3 separate regions of the Homo sapiens genome follow, and all the other regions are linked to region 2. Evidence: promoter capture Hi-C in 16 types of primary human blood cells and fetal thymus (Javierre and others, 2016). All regions are on one chromosome and are shown on one strand. Each heading gives the region's core, a stretch centred on a gene start or on the middle of the fragment in contact. The rest is flanking DNA. Distances are from core to core; before and after follow the strand shown. Region 1 overlaps SULT1E1 (sulfotransferase family 1E member 1). Region 2 holds the start of YTHDC1 (YTH N6-methyladenosine RNA binding protein C1). Region 3 has its middle 43 kb from the start of SULT1B1.

What was found. The method cuts DNA at HindIII sites, captures the fragments that hold promoters and counts their contacts. A CHiCAGO score of 5 or more calls a contact.
Region 1: a fragment that was not itself captured here is called in contact with the fragment with the promoter of YTHDC1 in region 2 in 1 of 17 cell types (non-activated CD4 T cells); the score reaches 6.1 in non-activated CD4 T cells.
Region 3: a contact is called between a fragment that was not itself captured here and the fragment with the promoter of YTHDC1 in region 2, in 1 of 17 cell types (naive CD8 T cells). The highest score is 5.4, in naive CD8 T cells.

What each region holds. Positions count from the first base shown.
Region 1 is chr4:69,839,093-69,842,505 of GRCh38, forward strand. It overlaps SULT1E1 (sulfotransferase family 1E member 1), which reads right to left. Exons shown (of 8, transcript NM_005420.3): 8 at 2,120-3,014. The coding sequence ends at 2,902. Among named protein-coding and RNA genes, the nearest start is that of SULT1E1, 19 kb to the right of the region's middle. The HindIII fragment of the contact is 1,398 bases long and covers 1,126-2,523 here.
Region 2 is chr4:68,348,792-68,351,838 of GRCh38, forward strand. It overlaps YTHDC1 (YTH N6-methyladenosine RNA binding protein C1), which reads right to left and starts at 1,299. Exons shown (of 17, transcript NM_001031732.4): 1 at 935-1,299. The coding sequence starts at 962. RefSeq lists an enhancer at 668-1,247. The HindIII fragment of the contact is 7,711 bases long and covers 1-3,047 here.
Region 3 is chr4:69,715,954-69,719,011 of GRCh38, forward strand. No RefSeq gene overlaps it. Among named protein-coding and RNA genes, the nearest start is that of SULT1B1, 43 kb to the right of the region's middle. The HindIII fragment of the contact is 3,151 bases long and covers 1-3,058 here.

The DNA of each region.
Region 1 (3,413 bases), core at 575-3,074, 1.5 Mb after region 2:
TGGGATGGCTCCAATTATGAGCAATTACCACACCCATAAGTGCTAACTGAGTACTTCCTAGTGTTGACAGAATGTCTATTTTCTGTCACTATAACAGAACAACATAAACTGGGATTTACAAAATCCAGAAGTTTGTTTGGCTTAGTTTGGGAAACTGAAAAGTCCAAGAGCATGCCATTGGCATCTGGTGAGGGCCTTTTTGCTGCAACATAACATAAAAGGCATCATATGTGAGACAGTAAGAGCCAGAGAGGACTCACTTTTGTAATAAAGTCTCTCTGGCAATAATGAACCCACTCCTGGGATAGTGACACCAATCCATTCATGAGTGCAGAGCTCTCATTAATCAATTAATCCATTTATGAGGGCAGATTAATTGAGTTTTCAATACATAAACTTTTGGGGAACACATTCAAATGATAACACATGGTATTAATCAGTCAGTCCATAAACCTTTAAAAAGTATTTCTGTGAATTTATCTGGGCCTGAAGGCATTGTTCTAGAGATATAATTATTAGGAAATATTAAGCAATGAGGTAAAAAAATTCTGTAGCTTTCTTGGAAGCACAGAACCAAAGCTACATTGGCCACCCCTATGTATTTTACCACATGATGCCGTCCAAGGTTTTCATTGTCTCCAGTCCATATGGACTGTAAGCCCAGCTCCAGGAAGATGCCAATAATCTAAAGGTGTTGAAGTTTCTACGTGAAATTGAAGCTAGATCCCAGCCGTATTACTTCTCCAAAGAAGATACAGAAGTTTCTTGGCAAGCTTTGGAAAGATATAGTTGGTCCAAATTTTATTCAGGCTAAACTGGAATGTGTTGTTCCACCAAGGACTGATGTCAGAAATATACGTAGGTTTATTATTGCTTACTTACGTCAATTATAATGTGGGCAACATCACTATGAATCTTACAAAATGCATTCTAAAAAAGTTATTGGACATTATAATGTGAAATTTTAAAAATTATGACTAAATGGGCACATAAAAAATGTAAAACAATTGTTTTCAGGGATTGATTCTGATTCCCCCGGTAAACACTGTCCTCAACAATATCTTAATATTTTCCAAGACTCTCCAATTTTTGTATAATTAATAACTATATTAAACATTAAAAAAAAGCTTTGATTCTTAAAAACTATAACTATTGAATAGGGTGCTCAGAAATCCATGGACTTTTCTCCAAAAAGTAAGAAAATAAATCATCTGGATTTCTCCCCAGATTTGGCCTTTTAGTCTATTGTAGTCTAGATAAGCATTCTACTGAAGACCCTAAGTAAATATGTAATGATCTTGTGTCTCCTCTGTGTTAGTGAAAGGAAGCATTGACTAAACATAGTACAGAAAAAGAATACAATTTTAAAAATAGAAGATGTTTTAAATAAAAAACAATAAAAAATTTTAATTCTTTTTTCTTCTGTTTTTGTTATATTTTACTGCCAAATATCTTATTCTTTAAAACTTATTTTACAATATTTACATTTGTTGGATTGCATATAGGACAGAAGGAACCCTAAAGCATAAATATTTCAAACTAGCTGAAGATAAATCACACTCATTGGAATTATTTTTGGATGTTTGGAAATCTGTTGTGTTATGTTGAAAAATTGGAGTTAGACTAAGGTAAATTTAAAATTAACTCATTTTGTTGAAAGTAAAAGAAAATGGGCCAGGCGCGGTGGCTCACGCCTGTAATCCCAGCACTTTGGGAGGCTGAGGCGGGTGGATCACGAGGTCAGGAGATCGAGACCATCCTGGCTAACACTGTGAAACCCCGTCTCTACTAAAAATACAAAAAATTAGCCGGGCGTGGTGGCGGCCGCCTGTAGTCCCAGCTACTTGGAAGGCTGAGGCAGGAGAATGGCGGGAACCCAGGAGGTGGAGCTTGCAGTGAGCATGAGCAGAGATCACGCCACTGCACTGCAGCCTGGGAGACAGAGTGAGACTCCGTCTCAAAAAAAAAGAAAATAAAAGAAAATAAGGAGGGAAATCATAGCTATAGTTATGCCCCCTATTTATATATTATTTCATTCTTTCTTCCAGAGTCTTCAAAGTTCATGCACCATTTTTATTATATACTAATGTCCTACTAAATGGAAAATCAATCACAAAAATAATTTGAAATGCTTGTTTATTTTTAATACAACTCTAACAAGATGAATAATCTGTGTTACTACATCATTCCCATAGGTTATAGTTGTGCATGATATTTATAAAAAATAGAAAAGAAGAAGAGGAAGCAAAAGAAAAAGAAAACAAAATTTAAGAGATGATAGTAGGAAAAAAAAGTTTCTTATTTCTCATATGCATGTACAGCTCAATAAACATGTTACCTGGGCCAGGCATGGAGGCTCAAGCCTGTAATCCCAGTATTTTGGGAGGCTGGTGTGGGAAGATCACTTGAGCTCAAGGGTTTCAGACCAGCCTGGACACTATAGCAAGCCCCTGTCTATACAAAAAATAGAAATAAAATTAGTTGAGCATGGTGGTGTGTGCCTGTTGTTGCAGCTACTTGGGAAGCTTGAGCCCAGGAATTCAAGACCAGCCTGGACAATATAATAAGACCTCATCTCTACAAAAAAACATTAAAAAAATTAGCCAAACATGGTTGCACATGTCTGTAGTCCTAGCTACTTGGGAGGCTGAGATGGGAGGATCAATTGAGTCAAGGAGGTCAAGGCTGCAATCAGCCATGATTGTGCCACTGTCCTCCAGCCTAGGCAACAGAGTGAGACTCTGTCTCAAAAAAAAAAAAAAAAAGTTAAACAAAAATTTAAAAAGAAAATGTCAACATAATCCATGATTATGTCTTTTCTAGCAATCTAAAATAAGAAAAAGTGGAGAATAATGAAAAGAAATCTTTAATATCAGATATGTTAAGTAAAGAAAGACCTTCTTAGATCTCAGTTCGAAACTTCAGTGTAGATTCCTTCATTTGCTGCTCATAATGTTTATCAAATTTTTCATTCAGGGCTACTGTAAAGTGATTTTTCCAGTCTCCTGTAATTCCTGTAACAAAAAAGAAAGCTCAATAAATATTAAGTCTTCCAAAAAGAATCATTAGGTTTGCTAATTTCATCACTTTCATTAACACCTAATCAAATATTATACTTGTAATTCTCAATTTTAAGAATCAAATGTATACCTTTAATGATATACTTTTTTGGGCTTACAAAGATGGATTTGTCCTAATTGGTTTAAAAAAACAACAAATTTAATTCTCTGATTCTTTCTTCTTATGCCATTTACTTTATTTTTCTTCTGAAGTTTCATCTCAGCTGTTGGGGCTCCCAGGATAAGATCCATGTTTTACCCACTCTCAAGGTGTTAAATATCATCTTAATGCTGATAGCACTAAAATCCAGACTTATGCTTTATATACAACTGCCTACATGATTTTGCCACCTG
Region 2 (3,047 bases), core at 49-2,548:
ACACAGAGCAGCGACCGTGTCATATTTTTAACTATAATCTTTCCAAGACTATTATGTTAATCTTAGGGTTGAAAAAGATCTTAAAGCAGCATTTAATCTAGACCACTCTCCAGAGAGACACTGATCTAGGACCTACATTAATATCTCTAGGGCTTGGGAACTTAGTATTACTATCTTTCCATTACAGCAACGTCAGTTCTCTCTACATTTCACTGAAATTTATCCCTCCAACTCTCTGTAACTTGCATTCATTTGTTTCTGACTGTACCCTCTGGGAGCTACACACGGTTTTTCTAACATAATAGCACCCAGGATTTCTTTGCCAGCCTAAGTCACACAGTCATCTTTCCAAACTAAGTATTCCTTTTTCCAAGTACTATGTTTTTCCAAAATAAGTATTCGAGGAACAAAACGGGTAATTCACTTTGCCTATTTAACAGGAACAGCCAGAAGTTATTTGCAGATATTTCTCAAGATTAATAACCTGCCAGTGCCACTTCCTAAACTTGCTCACTTACCACACCACCAGTGTTGATCGCGGCATTAGGGGTTTTCAAATTTTAGCCTAACAGAAATGGTTGTCCTGAAAATACGCGTTACATCCGCATGATCCTACCAGGAAATAAACCTAGGAGCTTGCAACTCAGAAAGGGCCCCTCTCAGCCCAAGACAGCTAAACGGAAAGTCAAGCGTGAAATCCGCATCAAAGAAAAACCCTACTGAGATGAAGTGCTAGGCCATATGGAGACTGAGGACGAAAGGGCAGGCCTGGTCTCCGCCAGAGTCTAAGTGTCTCGGTGGGGGCCACCGGCTCCTCGCGAGGCCAGCTAACCTCCCCAACCCCCACCCCCCACCCCCAACGACGACCACTGCTCCATCACCCCACTCCCGGGCCCCAGCCTCGCCTCGGCCCGTCATCTTTCTCCGCACTAACCTTTCTCCTCCCGACTGTCAGCCGCCATGGCTCCCCTTCGGTTTCCGCCGCTGCCACCGCCGCCGCCGCTTAGACGCGACTCGCGCGGGCGCCGCAGCCGCGGCAGAAGCACGGGCCCGTCCGTCAGTCCGTCTGCCCGGATACGCGCGTCGCACTTGGCCTCTTAACACTCAGCCTTCTCGACTCTTCCCGCTTTTTCCCTTTCTCCCTTCCTTTCACTCCAGCATCCAGCGGCCTAGGCCCAGCCTTCTCGTTAGGGCTCAGACTCGGGCTAGGTATGGGGGAGGGAAGGGAAACAGATGGCGACGGCGGGCGGCGCTAAAATGGAGCCTGCTTCCTGCGCGAAACAATCCCGCTCCCGAAATGCCCTGCGCTGTTTACGCTTCGTTCCTCTCTGGGAACGTCACAGTGCGGAGAGGGGCGGGGAGGCGGGGACGTGCAAAGGAACGTGACGTGACGTCAGCGCGTCGCCCTGCCGCCCTCAGCCCACTGGTACCTGGAAGGAGTCTTATTCAGGGATTAGGTTACCCAGGTTGTTCATGGAGTTCCCGCTGTACGGCCTATAACTGGATGGCGCAATTTTCCCACCTGAAACTCTTAGTGCAGGGCCTAACAGGCCTTCTTAGCTAGAGTCGCTCTAAAGGACTCCTGATTCAGTTCGGGTAATCGGAGTCTTATTTAGGACAAGTCTGGGTGAATCCCTTATGTTTACCAGATGTACTTTCTTAGTTGGAGTTCCACTCTTACCCAAAGGCAGTGCAGCATGCAACCAGCTTGTTTGTAGTCACAAAAGCCTGCTAGTTTTTGTTTGTTTTGAGACGGAGTCTCGCTCTGTCGCTAGGTTGGAGTGCAGCAGCGCGATCTCGGCTCACCGCAACCTCCGCCTCCCAGGTTCAAGCGATTCTCCTGGCTCTGCCTCCTGAGTAGCTGGGACTACAGGCGCCCGCCACCACGCCCAGTTAATTTTTTTATTTTTAGTAGAGACGGGATTTCACCATGTTGGCCAGGATGAAGTGCTGGGATTACAGGCGTGAGCTACCACGCCCGGCCTAGTTTTGTTTTTAATTGGGGAAAGAATTGTATCATAATAGGTCTTTGTAATTAATAACTAATTTAAACATGTTATCAAGGCCCTGGGGCACAAAATTGATTTAAGCAGACCATCGAGGAATCGAAACTACAGAATAAATGACCAGTAGATACATAACTACATAGTGTGGTAAAATCTGCAAGAGAAACTTGCTTAAGATTCATTGTCCAACGGAAACAATCTAATTTTGCTTCCTTGAACTATAACTGAGTTATAAGGGAAAGAAAAATCTGAAAAAGGTAACTAAGTAACTTCGTGATATGAAGACAAACTGGCAAACTAACTGCATATTCAGGGAAAGACAAGTAGTCTAGAAGTCTAGAATGTGGTACCTCTTTTTTTTTGAGACGTGGTCTCACTGTGACACAGGCTGGAGTGCAGTGGTGTGATCATGGCTCACTGCAACCTTGGGCTCAAGTGATCCTCCCACCTTAACCTCCCAGGTAGCTGGAACTACAGGCATGCTCCACCACATCCGACACATTTTTTGCATTTTTTGTGGAGATATACCATCTCCGCAAGATGGCTAACACCTAGCCATCTTGCCCAGGCTAGTGTCTAAATCCTGGGCTCCAGCAATCCTCCCACCTCGGCCTCCCAAAGTGCGGGATTACAGGTGTGAAGCCACCAGGAGTGGCCCCATTTCTAGGACCTTAATTGAACACTAATTTGAATATACGAACACGCACACGCCACAAACACACACACACACACACATTAAATAATATCTGATGATCCTGAGGAATTGCTATTTGTATTTTTAGTTTTAATAAGTTTTGCTTTTTAAAGAATTTCTTATAATTTCATGATTCATATGAAAATATTTGCAGGCCAGATGCAGTGGCTCATACCTGTAATCCCAGCACTTCGGGAGGCCCAGGCGGGCGGATCACCTGTGGTCAGGAGTTTGAGACCAGCCTGACCAATATGGTGAAACCCCGTCTCTGCTAAAAATACAAAAATTAGCCAGGCATGATGGCATGCGCCTGTAGTCCCAGCTACTCGGGAGGCTAAGGCAGAATT
Region 3 (3,058 bases), core at 254-2,753, 1.4 Mb after region 2:
TGCTAGGCAGCACAAGAAGAACTAAAAAAAATACAAAGTTTTTAAAGGAAGAATTATAAACTGTCATTGATAACTGACATTATATTGTATGTAAAAAGACTTGATAGAATCTGTAGACTATTAAAATTAACAAGTGAAATTAATAAGGTCTCTGGATAAAAGGTTAAACTAAAAATCAAATGCATTTCTACATACCAGGAACAAAAATTATAAAATGGCCTTTAAAGAAAATATCATTTAAAATGATCAAGATAGGTCAAATGTGGAGAACTGAATCTAACAAAAGTATACGACTTCTACATTGAAATAACAAATTATTAGAGGTAAGCAAATAATTCCCAAATAAAAGCATAGTTTTTTGTAATCATGTAATTACTTGACTAATTGATCAATAGATTAAATGCAATCCTAATACAGATCATAGCAGGTTTTTTTTTAAGGGAAATTGTCAAGATTCTTCTAAAATGTATATGGAAAAACAAAAGGCCAATACTTGACCAGGCATTCTTGAGGAAAAATGAAATTGAGTTCTACTATCAGTCATTCAGTTACATTGTTAAGCTATATTAATTAAAGCAATATGGTGTTCATGTAAACATTTATAAAAGACCAGTGGAATAAAATAGTCCAGATACAGACCCACATTTATAAGGACAACTGATGTAATACAAATGTGACTGCAGTAAAGTGAGGAATGAATGGCCTTTTTAGTAAATTGTGCTAAGTCAACTGGATATCTCTAGGTGGGGAAAACCACTGGAGTCCTACCATATAAATATTCATTCCAGATATATTTTAGATTTACATGTGAAAGACAAACAATAAATCCTGTAGAAAAAAAGAGCATCTTTATTACCTCGTTGCAAACAAATATTTCTTATGTGGGATACAAAATGCTTACTCTGCAGAAAAAATTATAAATTGAACAATATTAAGACTAATAATACCAAAAGACACTGTTAAGTGACTAAAAACTCAAGTCATAGAATAAGCAGATGAAATAGCAGATGTAATATCAAAAAAGCCAACAGTTTTGTGTTTCTTAAGAGTAAGAAAATTGACGACCACATGGCAAGACATATTAAAAAAGAGAGAGAGAATACTCATCAATATTGAGGATGAAATAGGGATATCACTAATATTTCTATAGACAATATGAAAATAAGAAAGATTTTGAAAAGAGCAAAGATACAAAAAATCTTAAGGTGTATATATATACACACCTACATAAAAATATGTACATATGTGTAAGCAAACATATGCACATGCACACTCATAGATATTCATATTCTTCAAATCAGTGAAAAAATAGGGCAACACATAAAAAATAGACAAAAGAGTTGAATGGGTACTTCACAAAAGAGGTATAATGAATAATCAATATGATGAATTAATGTGAAAACTTACTCAAAATTTATCAGCAGTGAAATATCAATTATAACCAGAACATAATAAACATTTACCAAGATGGCTAAAATGAAAATTACATAAAATAATAGGTGATGAGTATAAAATCTGGGACTGGAATGCTTTTGTACAGCTGGTGTAATTGTAAATCAATATAACCAGGTTGGAAAAGTATATGGTGGTATATCTTAAACGTATGCACATCACGTTATTTAGTAAATCAATACCTAGGCTACACTCAAGGAAAATGCACATAAAATATATATACCAAAAATGTAAATAACATGTTCACTGTAGTACTATTTGTAGTAAACCAAACTGAAAATTTTGAAATGCTTATCAAAAGCAAATAAACATTGGTATAGTCTCATAATGGAATGCTATATAATAATAAAAATAAAAACTACAACTACATGCAACAACATGGATAAATCAGTAAAATACAATGTTGAGTGAAAAAAGTCACAAAGTCCACAGAGTCCATCTATACCATTCCATTAATATAACTTTCAAAATAAAAGGCAAAAGTAATCCATGGTGTTAGAAATCAGACTTGTGGTTTCCATTGGGAGTAACATTGACTGGAAGAGTGAGGCTCCAGTATGCTGGTAATGTTCTAATTCTTAAACATTAACCAAATTAACCAGAGACATGAAATCTGGTTACACAGGTGTGTTTATTTGGAAGGTTTCTCTGTATATCTATGATTTTTGGAGTTTTCTATCTGTATGCTATACTTAAAAAAATGGTAAAACTTCAATGACCATGAAAAATTCAGATATTGAGATGAAATTTTGGTACCCCTAAAATGTGCCTTGACCACTAGGCTGCTTTGAATAGACTTTATATCTATTTATTTTTATTGTATGTTGCTATCCCTTTCTGGTTTGCTTCCCTTGCATTTTGGCTTTGTTGCAGAGGCCCAGTGTGGTTCAAGCTCAAGACCCCAAAATACGACAGTAAGAACAACTCAGGCAAAACAATGAGAGAGTATAGTTTTATCATGTACTAATCTATTCAGAAACTTAGCTTTCAAAAAATGGAAGAAATAATTACCCAGGGAATAAGAAAAAAATGTTCTCAATGAAACCCAATTTACACTCATTGTTTAAGCGAATGAATAGTTTACACACTAAGCAAACTGTACTAGGAAAGTTACCCATTTATTTTAAAACACACTGCATATTTGGCTAAAGGCCAGTTTTAAGTTATGTGATTCACTTAACTTCCTCTTTCCCTTCAAATTATATTTAGCCATTGGCTTTAAGTTTTAAGTTTTCATTATTTTATTTTTCTGCATTTCTAAATATGAATTTCATTCGTACAAAAGGAGCTACTTTGTAGCTGTTAAATCTGTCTATCTATCTATTACTTGCAAAATGAGTAGTTCATCTTCGTCACTTGGAAATTGCAATATATAATATGGCTATTGAGTCACCTCTGGTGTTTTATAGAATGTGTAAATTAGAGTCCCACTCCAGGCTTTCTTAATCAGAATCTCTAGAGAGAGCTACAAGAATCTTTCTTTTACAAAAACTTCTACTATGCACAACAATGTTGATACTCTTGCCAATAGTTCTAGAGGAAGGGAGGGAGGGGATATAGAGGATGCAAGTTGTGAGAAAATAGTTTGTTCCCTCTCCTTTTTTCC